Linked DNA regions of Homo sapiens: region 2 is linked to region 1. The links are contacts of gene promoters, found by promoter capture Hi-C in blood cells and fetal thymus (Javierre and others, 2016). All regions are on one chromosome and are shown on one strand. The core of a region is centred on a gene start or on the middle of the fragment in contact, and the rest is flanking DNA. Distances in the headings are between cores, read along the strand shown. Region 1 holds the start of CMIP (c-Maf inducing protein). Region 2 holds the start of MIR4720 (microRNA 4720).

What was found. The method cuts DNA at HindIII sites, captures the fragments that hold promoters and counts their contacts. A CHiCAGO score of 5 or more calls a contact.
Region 2: a contact is called between a fragment that was not itself captured here and the fragment with the promoter of CMIP in region 1, in 1 of 17 cell types (total B cells). The highest score is 5.1, in total B cells.

The regions. Positions count from the first base shown.
Region 1 is chr16:81,442,937-81,449,283 of GRCh38, reverse strand. It overlaps CMIP (c-Maf inducing protein), which reads right to left and starts at 4,476. Exons shown (of 21, transcript NM_198390.3): 1 at 3,743-4,476. The coding sequence starts at 4,042. RefSeq lists enhancers at 1-642, 1,409-2,172, 2,173-2,938, 5,103-5,635 and silencers at 3,484-3,783, 4,214-4,263, 4,334-4,683, 4,794-4,893. The HindIII fragment of the contact is 9,361 bases long and covers 1-6,347 here.
Region 2 is chr16:81,379,965-81,386,268 of GRCh38, reverse strand. GAN (gigaxonin) reads right to left here. Exons shown (of 11, transcript NM_022041.4): 11 at 1-6,304. It overlaps MIR4720 (microRNA 4720), which reads right to left and starts at 1,251; the gene lies at 1,176-1,251. The HindIII fragment of the contact is 949 bases long and covers 1,091-2,039 here.

The sequences.
Region 1 (6,347 bases), core at 3,227-5,726:
AACAAGCCACTGATGAATTATGGCTTGAGAATAAAGAACACTACTGTCACCTGTGCCCCGACCCCTGAATAAAGGACTTTCTGAGTGGATCCACCATTCTGAAATACCGTGTGCCACATTCTCTTAAAAGTAAGATGAAATAAAAGGTAGGCAGCTTATTTGTACTTCTGTGGTGCAGAAGAAACAAAGCCTACAGACAAAGCCCTCTGCCCACGGACAAACATGCCTAGCAGGTGATCAAATTCAACCCACAGACGAGAGCAGCAAAATGGATTCTGGTCCTGCCGAACCCGGCCGCTTATGCAGAACCCCTGGCTGCCCTGGCTGTCATTTACAACCAACACGACCATCACCAGCCATGAAGAGCCAGTGAGGCCCAGGAACTGGGAAGTTTGGGTACAAAGAGGGAATGGGGCACCACATTCAGGCCACAGCCTGGGCAGACAGGCCCTTCCCCACAAAGGTGCAGTCCTGGGTCCCCAAGGGAGGGGGCCCTGGCCTCCCTATCTCCCCTCCCAAGTCAGCTGTCGCCTATCTGCTTCCTCCTTTGTTTACGAGCATTTCGGATCCAAAGTCTCCAAGCACAGGGTGCATCAGACCTGGCGGCCGTCACAAGCCACATTAGGCACGCTGTTGGCTCTGCAAGGATTTAATCAGTAACTGGCCCAGGAGACCAGGGCAGGGCAAGCTGCGACCTGATCCCACAGGAGGCAAAGTTTACAGGCAGGCCAGGCGGGTGAGGCTGCTGGCTCCACCGGTAAGACAGCCTGGAGGGCTATCAGGTCCCTTGGACCCCAGACTAAAAGGTGTACCTAGCCGGTGTCACCCAGCAGGTGGGACTGGGAGCCCGAGTCTGCCTGCATCCCAGCCTGATGCAGATGTGCTCCTGGAAGCACGGTCTTAAATCTCTCAGATTCGGTTAATTGGATCAATGGAAACAGACTGCAAAAGGTTTGGGCAAAAAAGAGTATTTGGCTTGTTTATTGGTTTGAATCCCTATCAATCACTCTGGGTCTTGTTCCTGAAGCCCATACAATTAACCAGATAATTACCAGATGATTCTGAGTTGGGCTGTGTAGATGGCTTAAAATATGGATGACTGATATTTCAAGTAAGGATATGACTCTATAGGAAACATACTTGGAATATCGGGAGCTCAGGGCTGGGCCAGCGGCTGCTGCGAAGCCACAGGACTGCAAAGGGTTTTTGTTCTAGGGAACTGCACTCAAATTCACCTTTGTTTTATTTGGGCTCATATTTCTCAATAGAGTGCTTGGGCCGCACTATAAAACGCAGACAGATTACATAATGTCCAGGCCTCAGGGAAACCCCACAGGGGCTCCGCTGCTTCCCCGAGAGCCTGGACACCAACCAGGTGTCTCATGATGGGACGAGAGCCCTGGTGGCAGTCCCAACCTCACCTCTACCCGGGAGGCCAGCGCTCCAGCCAGGCCAGCCCTCACAGCCCCACCTCCAGGCTCACAGGCCCTGAGGCAAGGCCCCCTGGAGCCCACCAGAGGGCAAGGGTAAGACTTAAGGACACCCCCTGCCTGTAGTGCTTGGTGACGAAAGGCAGCGGAAAGGGGATTATGCCAGTCCATCAAACACTTCCTTATAGTTCCTCTTGCCACATTTCCTAACACCAGAGCATGGCTCTGCCAAGAGAATCTTGCTCCATGGATAAGCCTCAGTCCCCAGTACTAGACAGGTGCTTTCCGGAAAGGCCCACACTACCGATGGTGCCACCTACCTGGGCTGGCCAAGGTGAGCGAGGGGCCTCTGGCTATTCAGGTCTTTCTTCCTTCCCTCTTTCTCTCAGATATACCTCCTGAGCAATCGGAGGTAAGTGGGGAGGCATTAGCCTCGAGAGCTGGCTTTCCGGAAACAGGACGGTAGCAGCGGGACACTCACTCCTGGCTTCTCCCAGAGGGAGAAGGGGCTCCTCCTGGCCTTCCCATGGCAGGTCACTGTTCCTTCTAACCATTTTCCTACCCCACCACCAACAACCCTTCATTTTGTGGAGTGTAAGAGGAAAAAAAAAAAAAAAGCCCAATAAAGTCCCCCTGAGCCAGGTGAAAATTCTGAAGCCAGATCTGGGGTCTCCAGAATCCAGGCAGGGGGCACCGCGGTCACCAGTTCCTCCCCACATCAGAAACACTCCGTACTGGCAAATTTTCGGAGGCTCTCTCCCGCCTCCATCCATTGGAAAGCCAAATGCTGCGGCCTGTGGCGCGGGACGGGCTTGAGAACATGCACCAGCCTGACCGGGGACTGGGCCGCCTCCCCGCGACCAGCAATCCTCCCTGAAAAAGGAGTCTTTGCAGATATTGCACCAACGTGCCCACAGGAAAGAGAAAATAGGTGCTCTAAGCATGTCGGACCCCAAATTAAGAATAAAAGTCCTCGAGGGCTGCAACGCTCTGGGGTGGGGGGTGGGGGACTGGTTCAAAGAGTAGGATTCTTCAGCTAACTTTTCCCCCCTCCCCATTCCTTGGGGCATGTGTCATGGCCTGTGACACACCGCCAAGGGAACATGGATGCCAGGGAAATGTCTACACACGCTACACGTTTGTGACATGCCATGTAAGCGACACCCTATTTCCTGGCTGGGTTTTCTTGGCACAGGTGTGGGCAGGCAGTGGATTCGGCCCCCTCCCACTGCGCTTAGTAAACAGGATCACGGTGGCCCCAGGGAGGAGTGTGCATTCTGGGGAAGACAAGCTACACCCCCAATGAGGATGGGACCCCCACGGCAAGCCTCAGGCCCAAGCCACAGCCGGTATTTGAAACTGTCCTTGTTTCAAAACACAAAGCATCCTGTTCAGGCTCCTACCCGCCACCCCCACTCTCCCCTCGACCCCACCACAGCTGTCTTTCTCCACGTACGAAGAAGGCCACCATTTGCAGATCTGATTTCAGAAACAGATCAATGGTTTTTCCTCTCCGACTCATCCAGCTGACCCAGTCCTACCCATGTATTTAAAAACAATAACAAAATTAAACCTCCAGCAACAAAACACACACGTATACACACACTCTACAGACAATGCCGGACCAGGGCTCCACCAAGCAGCTTCTAGGCTAGAACTCGACCACCGCTGGGTCCTGAGATATTCCAGGACCACTGCCCCCTCCCCCTCCACTTCCAACCTCTCAATGTGCGAATGAGATTTTCAGAAAGGGAAGCACCCCGTTCTGCCTGCCAGCCCTGGCAGGAAAGAGAATAAAGGACGGGTAAACCAAACAGAGAAACTGGCTTCTGGAAATTCTTTGGGTTTGGGGGTTTGGAGGTTTTGTTGTGTTGTTTGTTTTTTTTTTTAAATCTGAGGGGTGGTATTTTGTTTTCCCCTCCCCCACCCCTCAGATCCAGATGGGCCAGGGGCTTCCAGAGAGAACCCCCACCACCATCAGGGCCCAGCGTCGGGTCCATCCTCGAGTCCCAGCCACCAGAAACACAAGAGCTGGGGGCAGAAGGTCCCCAGGCACCCAGCCTGGCGGTGGGCCGAGTCTCCAGCATTTTAAGGGTCTCTCCTGAGCCCGGTCGGCTGGTTTGGGCTTCAGACTCCAAAATCGAGCCCCGCGAGCAGGCCAGGAGCGAGGCGCCCTGGTTCTCCCCGTTCCCCCGGCACCCCCCACCGCCCCCCAGGCCCTGGGCTCCAGGTGCAGCGCCAGGGGGCAGCCAGGGAGGGCGCATCTCGGGCCCCGAGGAGAGGCGGGGGTGCAGCCGCGCAGAGCCACTCACCGTGGCGGACGCCAGGCTGTTGTCGGCCAGCGTTAGGTGGTGCGGCTCCCAGCGCCTCAGGAATTTCGAGGTGAGGATCTTGCTGAGAAAGGTCCGCGGGTGCCGGATGACACAGACCTGAATGTCGCCCTCCTGCAGCAGTTTGTACCTCATCCCGTTGCAAAGCAGAAGAGCCCGGCGGCAGGGCACGGCGCCCATCTTCGTGCCTTCGGGGGCCGACACGTCGCCCCCCAGCAGCGGCTTGGTCTCCTCGATCTGCCGGGGGTCGCCGCCGCCGCCCGAGCTGCTGGTCACATCCATGGCCGCGCCGGGGGAGGGGGCTGGGGGCGGGGAGAGGGGGCTGTCCTGGGCTGCTGGGGCGGCGGGGCCCCCGGATCCGGCGGCCCGCACCCCCCCACCCCCCGGGAAGGTGGGGGGGTGTGGGGCTGGGGGCGCCCGCAGGGGAGGGGGCGCTGCCCGCGGGGGGCGGCGCGTGCGGCGGGCTGGGCCGGCCTCGGCGCTTCCTGCGGGGCTCCGGGCTTCCTCCTAGCTCGTCGGGTGCATGCTCGCGGCGGCTGACCGGGCTCGGCGGGCGACGGGGAGGGGCGGGGGAGGCCGAGGGCGGGCCGGGGCCAGGCGCGGAGGGCGGGCGCCGGGGTGGGGGCGGCGGGGTGGGGGCGGGCGTGTCTCGGGGCCCCGCGCCGCCGCGCGCGTGTGTACAGAGCGTGTGTCCGCGCGGCCGTCCGGGCGAGAGTGGCCGCGGGCGGGGCGGGCCGCGCGCCGGGCTCCCGGAGCCCGGGGCGCCCGCGCGATTGGTCCCCGCAGGGTCATGTGCCCGCCCCTCTGACGTCAATGGCGGCAACGGCGGCGGCCGCGGCGGCTTCGGCCTCTCGCGGGCGGAGTCCGCGGTCCGGGCGGGGTCGCGGCCCACGACGGGGAGGCGCGGCCCGACGGGAGGGGCAGCCCCTGGGGAGGGGGCTGGGGCGGGCGAGCCCCGCGGGGTCCCGGCCCGCCCCGCCTGGAATGTGGGGAGGGGGCGGGGCGCGGGGGCGGGGCGCGTGACGTCACGCCAGCCGCGCCCCCGCGGGTGCCCGGGCGGGAGCCCAGCCAGGCTGCCGGAGCCTGGGGGCCCGCGCCTCACCCACCCCCGCCGCCCCCGGGCCGGACTCGGACGGGTAAAGAAGGATACCCGAGGGCCGGGGGCTGGGTGGAAGGACGGGGACTGGAACCCTCGACCCCTGACGCCCCCTCCGCTGTCCAGGCTGTCCAGCGGGCTGGCCAGATGGGGCCGTGGGACGGGGACGCCTTCCCGACTGAAAGTGTCCCCGCGGTGATCCGGAGGATGAGCCCACCCTGCCCTGTCTCCCACTGCGGGACCCAGCCGGCCTCGAACTCCTGGCCTTTGACGTCTGCTGGCTTTGGCCTTGGGGGTCCTCAAACCTTCTGGAGAGAGGGGACGGTCCGCCCATCCCCCTTCTTTCTTCTGCCCAGGGAGACAGAGCCTCTTCTAGGAACCCACTTAAAGCACCCCCCAACCTACACAGCCACCCCTCTTGTGCGCACCCCAGCAGCTCCCCCTACTTCACCTTCCCTGGGACCCCACCTGGTCATTTTATCTGAGTTCACAGGCCCAGCACCAGCCCACGAGAGAACCATATTCGATTCTCTTGTGACCCAGGGTATCAGGAACTGCAGCCTGGATGCAAAAAGCTCCCTTTCTGCCATCACAAGCAGCCGGCACCTAAGGCCACCTAGCAAATGCTCAGCTCCTCAGCCAGGTTTTCTTATCTCCACGTGCTCCTGCAGCTAATAACGTTAAAACCCTAGATTTTTGCCTTTTTAAGTGAAGGCGCCTCTGTAGTGAACACATGAATGTGTGCAGCGTGTGTTGAACTGCGTCGTGAACACTGCGGAATATCCACAGCATCTGTGCCGTTGGTGGAAATTATTCACCCCCCCTCTCCCAAGAACAGGCAGCATGAAGGTGCTCCCCAGAGGACCCTCTCCCCGAGCCTGGCCAGGGTTTCAGGCAGGGGATGAAAGGCAGGTCCCAGGCTGCATCCCTCACCAAGGAAAGAAGACTCACATCCAGCCTGCCCAGGAGATGCCTCCTTGGGGAGGCACAATTAGATTAGAAAGTTAGAAATTCCTTAGCTCCCCACAATTTGCTGCCATTTCCTTCCAGTTTTGAGCTTGAACAGCCTTGAGAAAACCACCAAGCATGAAGGGGCAAGCCCTAGATATGTGGGTGTTGGGGGGTGGTTGGGGCCAAGAAACCCCCCAGTCCATTAAGCGGGTGGGATTAGATCCTTTGTTCAAATATTTTCATTGAGCTCCTGCTGTATGCTGGTCACAGGCCAGGCACTAGGGTATTAATGGTAATGACTATAATAACCACAGTGGCCAGAGGCTTCCTATGTGCTAAGAATTTTGTACGCACACATCATTCTCTTCTCACACCCTATGACATAGGTGCTGTCCTCATCCTCAACCACAAAGCATGGAGGTCAGAGTCCAGAACAGTAACAGACATTGTGCTTGGTGCTCCAGGAACAGAAAGGGGGATGTCTAACCCAGTGTGGGGGACCAGGGTACTCTAAGAGTTCTTTAGGAATCAAGTAAAGAA
Region 2 (6,304 bases), core at 316-2,815, 60 kb after region 1:
TATTTCAATGAAAAAAAAGGAAAATTCAACTTTAGTAAAGAGTTTTAAGTATTATTAGAGAATTTCACTGGGCAAATTCTAAACAGAGGGTTATTTATAACAAACTCTAAGTATTCTAAACACATATTTTGGGCTGTTTCAGCTATCTAGAATTGTGTTGAATTTAAATACTAGAGATGTAGATGGAGAGAGGTGATATGGGTCTAGAAAGCAAATCATTTTCTGGCTGGATGCTCACACCTGTAATCCCAGCACTTTGGGAGGTTGAGGCAGGCGGATTGCCTGAGCTCAGGAGCTCGAGACCAGCCTGGGCAATATGGTGAAACCACACCTGTTCTAAAAATACAAAAAATTAGCTGGGCATACTGGTGTGCACTTGTAGTCCCAGCTACTTGGCAGGCCGAGGCAGGAGGATCCCTTGAGCCTGGGAGATGGCGCCACTGCACTCCAGCCTGGGTGACGGAGCGAGACTCCATCTCAAAAAAAAAAAAAAAAAAAAGTATTTTATGAACACCAACTTCTAATACATTTACTTGTATATCATGTGGCAGCAGACGTGAGAATGTGGAAAGCTATAAGGCCTGGGACACTCAGTGCAGGCAGCCTTGGCCTCATCCACAGGGCCTCCCACCACCCCATGTTGAGAGGTGACATAATCATGGTGGCAGCAACAGTGGTCACTGCACACAAGGCACTCTCCCAGCTGCTTACAGTCATCACCCAGTTAATCCTCACAACAACCCGCAGAGGTGAGTCCTCCTGCTATTCTTCTTCCACATAAGAAACGGAGCCTTGGGAGCCTTAAGAGCTTCCCAAGTCACAGAGTAGTAAGTGTGGCAGAAGCCCCCAAGCCCAGATGCACCTGCCACCAAGGCCTATGCTCTCAACCACTGGGTTTGTAAGGAAAGTATATAAAGATGATTGCCTGAAAATAATTAAAATAACAAAGTTTGGGGTTTAAGTTAAAGGAATAAGCCTTTGTTCTCATGGAAATCACTTCCAGGAAATGTCTCATGTCCTGAGCTAAGTCAGTCTCATGTCCTGAGCTAAGTCAACAGGGTGCTAACAGATTGTCATTGGAGGAGAAGCTTTGTCATTCTACTATTGAAAGCAAGCCCTTTACTCTGAAAAGCACAAGCATAAAAATTAAATCTTATTAATACACAACGACAGTTAAACTTGGCTATACTTGGTACAACTTAAGCACCAGATTTTACCTGGTGCTTAAGTTATACCAAATATGCCAGGCTTTTAGAAATGGGCATAACTCTTTTGGCCACGGCATCACTGAACTCCTCCATTTAAGTAGAATGTGTACAACTGTGCCCTGAAACTGGGCCATTATTACAAGATCTCCCGAGAGGAAGAGTCTTGCCTACAACTGGTGAGCCTCCTCATCTTCTTCCTCCTGACTTGGTGACCAGGCAAGCTGACAGACACTAGGGAGGATGGAGGCGACCACGTGTGGAGTGCAGAAGGCGCATACCGGAGGAAGGTGAGGGATGTTCCACAGATACATGGAACAAATCACATCATTCATGATTTTCAGTATCATCCAACTCTATATAGTTCTGCCAACCTCAACTCTGCACTGAGGAAACACTTTAAGTGAGGAGGATCTTAGCAATGAGTAGATTTTCATCAAAATTAAAGATTTCTGGGAAACAATAGCACCTTATAAGAAATGAAAAAAATAGTATCCTCAAGCACCCAAATCCCAAATACTGGGTCAGATGACAGATAGACACATTTTCTTGTCTGATGCTAACAAGAATGGAAATCGAGCCCCCTGTTTTACACAGCAGTGGCGTTTAAATAGACTACTTTTCTGCATTATGAAAACAGCCTTTTAAAGACTCTTTAAAGTTCAAGTTGAGTTTCAAGTAATCAGTTTGCAGCAACTCTAGGAGAATTATTATTCCTCCTGGTTGTAAGTGCTTTTTTTTCTTTTCTTTTTTTTTTTTTTTTAAGTAGTAAAATGGAAAACAGGCCTTAGAGAATTGTATTCCTCAAGGCCTCTGACTGCCTGCTTCCAAGCTTTTGTTAAAGAACAGAATGTGTTGAATTCTTCTCAATTGGCAGGGGATCAAGCACAATACTACATAATGAGGTAGCTGAGAACAGAGTTTTTCCTATAAACACAAAGAACAACTGAATAAGTGCATGTAATTCTCATCCAATTAAACAGGAAACATGATAAAGCAAGTTAGTACAGTTGTATTTAAACCAAGTTGACTGGTATAACTTGAAAAAATTTAACCCAAGTTTCTAAGGTATGCCTTATTCATAACTGATGAGTAAAAACAATAAAAATAAGGTACCCAAACCTATTACTTGTAATGAAATGCTAAAAATAAGATCCTAATAAATATAATTCACCAACCAGAAGACAGATGAACCTCCGTTTGGGATGTGAATGATTTGAAATGGCCGTTCATTTACGTGGATCCTATTCAGTGTCTACTCGTTCACTTCATCTTAAGGCCGTGTGTCCCCCGGACTCTGTGTGTTGCCATCCTTTTCCACCTGTTCCTTCTCTAATTCATATCACGACTGTACAATTTCTGGTTTTCTTTCAATGTGTGCACAGAAGGAAGCTCAACAACTTTGTTGAGCCAGGAAGAAATTATTATCAACATTTATAATCAGGCCAAATTTCAGCTGAGTAGTGACTTTAAAAGAATTAGTTTTAATCTCAAAATAAAAAAAAAAAAAGAGGGCAGGCGAGGTGGCTCACACCTGTAATCCAGCACTTTGGGAGGCTGAGGCGGGCGGATCACGAAGTTTAGGAGATCGAGACCATGCTGGCTAACATGGTGAAACCCCGTCTCTACTAAAAACACAAAAAATTCGCCGAGTGTGGTAATAAGCACCTGTAATCCCAGGTACTGGGGAGGCTGAGGCAGGATGATTGCTTGAACCCAGGAGGCGGAGATTGCAGTGAGCCGAGATCGCACCACTGCACTCCAGCCTAGGCGACAGAGCGAGACTCCGTCTCAAAAAAAAAAAAAAAAAAAAAAAAAAAAGAGAGGGCAACAGTCATTTCTGACTAAATAATTATATAATGTAGTTTTATTTATTTGATGTTTAATTTCATGAAAAGGGGAAGGGGTTTAAAAATCCAATCACTTAGAGAATTTCAATGACAGAACTGAAAAAGAACAAACTTTCTACGGAGCGTGGTGGCTCATGCCTGTAGTCCCAGCTGGGTCTCCACATCTGAGGCCAGGAGTTTAAGATCAGCCTGGGCAACAGAGCAAAACCCAGTTTCTAAAAGAAATTTAAAAAAATAAAATAAAATAAAAAAGAATAAACTTTCCTAAACTGTATACATTAGACCAAACCATCTGGAAGTATGATTTAATTCCTCAGATGTCACATAAATGGAACTATTACAATGAGACAATATTGAAATATGTTTAAAATGGAAATAATAATAGGGTTCCTTCTGAAAAACACAAAACTTTACCAAGTTTTACCAGCTAACTTGCAAAAAATATAGAAAATGCCTAGCAGTCAATACCACTGAGACTTAACTGCCAGCAGGCATGACAGACACTCAATCCAAGTCTGTGTTATCAAATATGGGCAAATGGGCCCCTTCTCATCCTTATACTATGAATTTCTGTAATTTCTCAAAACTACAGACAGAGTAAAGAGTATTTCAAGAATTATTAAAAGCTATCAAAATACTTTCCTCAACATTCTAAGACATAGTTTATTTTCCCTTACTAATTACATGGAATAAGAGAGGGAAGTATACATGAAGCTCTTTGAAATAAAAAAACAGTTTCTCTTTCAAAGAAACTTTCTTCTGTTCTTACGACCTTAGTAAATAAATTCTTAACCTTCCTATAGCTAACTAACAAAGAAAATCAAAGATCTTTCAGCTTATGCCTGTGCAACTAGCAAAGGACATGTTTGGGAGCGTAAATTGTATTAATACTAAAAATGATTATTCTATTACTAAAAATACTTGTATGCCTAGAAAAATCAAGTTCCAGCCTCACTGGCTGACTGGTGAGCTGATAATCCAAAGACCTGGCTTCTGCTTTTGGTTCTTGCTCCTCCCTAAAGTGAGAAATGAAGCCATATCTATCAGGCCTCCAAGATTACCCTGGTACAATGGGGAGAGTGCCCTGCCTATTCCAGAGGTGTGAGGATCAAAGGGGTATGTCCTGGAAAGATTTTGACACCCATATAAAAAGCAGTCAATAAAGCCCAATACTAAACATGATCAACATTATAAGCTGTGCTGAGTCTATAGAGGGTCTCATAGTCCCATATAGAGGGTACAATCAGAAGACTGTACATCATGTACATCAGGCACTTGGCATTGTTTATGCTATACTAGTTTCAGCTCCATATAGGAGGCCGGCCCATGCTAGTTTCAGCTCCGTATAGGAGGCCAGCCCATATGGGTACAAAGTTTCTCACTGAAAACCCAGTAAAATCAGTCACTCTTGGAGTGCCCTTTTCAACAGAAGAACATTACTTTGATCACAAGAATCTTATATTTATTTGTCAAATGTTTATTGCCTACCTACTCTGTGCAAGCACTGAGACTGGCAGATGACAAAGACGGGGCCCTTGCCCGTTCCATAGTGGGTTTATGACCTTGAGTAGGAGAGTGGTGTGACCTCTGCCTCACTGTTCAGCTCCCAGGATGGCAAGCACAGTTCCTAGTGGGTGCTCATCAGACATGTGTTGGCTGACCCAAGGCGGGTTTTGCTACACTCAGCTGCTCTCTTCTCACTGACTTCCTGGACTCCAGTGCTCAGTGAGCAGCCAGTGGAAAAGGGCCGCCTCACCTTTCCCTTCCACCAGGTGTTTTTAACGGGGTTCCGGCATCTTTAAATTGATACAGTCAAAGCGCCACCTCATTCTTCCCCCATTTAACCAAAGGTCTTCATCTGACCACGGGAGGCCTCTTGAATCATGAACGCCAACATTCTGGAAGGGGATACTGCGGTGTTTCTAGCACTCCTTGGAAGGTTTTTGGAATCCCTGGTTTGGTACACTGAGGTAGGAATGTACCAAAGGGAACTCTAATGGACCACAGCAGCTAAGACATTTCTCTAGAAATGAAACTTAACTACCCATGAGTAACTTAGGTGCCATAGCAAAGCCAGTCCTCTCTTTACCACGTTTGTACAAAGAATGTATTTCCTATGCATTGACTAGGGAATCCCCCCAACTCATAAATTATAAAAATGACACTTCCAAGCCATCAATGAAGGAAGTGTCATCATTAAAGTGGTAGTGCAATATAACAAAGTGTTTACAAACAAAACACCATCCAACATACCCCCAAATGCTCCTTTTTGGTTGTTATACAGTTTGAAAAAAGCCTACAGTTAGCTATCAATTCCTTACAGCAATGAAGTACTAAGCTAAACAATGCATTCAGAAATTTCTTAGGCCAAATCCTGACAGTATACCAACTACGAGTTGGTAAACACTGTTTTTAATCCTGCTGAAGAAGAGAAACGCGAACACCAAGTAAAACTTACTATAAACTACAAATATTTCAATATTTACACTCAATATGAGTTCGACACAGTAGTATAAACTGAAGGTCAACAGGCTCAAGAATTTATCTGAAGCACCAGGAGACAGTAATATATGTAGTTTAGAACTACAATTCAAAAAGTAAACACAAATACATTTATCAGGTCAAATAGCATCACACACACACGTACAACTCACTCATTCATCTCTCACACTTTTTCTATTCACAGGATATAAGCACTATCAAAAACAAAACAAAAAACACTTTCAATAAACACTTAAATCTTTGAAAAATCTAAATTTGGATATGCTAAACAAAGAAACAAACTACCTATTTTAGACTGCAGCCTAGGAGAGGTTCTTTAAATATTTACTTATTCTAACCTGAGACAACTTTCCTTCTGAAAATAAATTGCACTTCCCCCAAAGATATTTGTATTTAAAATTTAAGACCTATCCTGAGCCACCAATTCCAACACACACCTGGTAAAAGTGCCTTATCAAGAAAGAAGTATCAAAAAGTTATCAAGAAATGATGTTTCAAGGCATAAGTGGAATGTTAAAACACAAACCTGCATGAAATGAGTCAACATTTATTTTACAATACTGAAATAACTGTAATTTACAAAAGAGTCATGATTAATGTTGGAGCATAGTAAAATTAAATACATCCCTATACTTCAACACAATATTTTAATATTTATATATAGTAAAATAACAGTTTGGCACTTAGCAGCTTTGTTGGTTATTGCATCCCATATTATGTGGCAAATTTATTTTATAAAACATTATC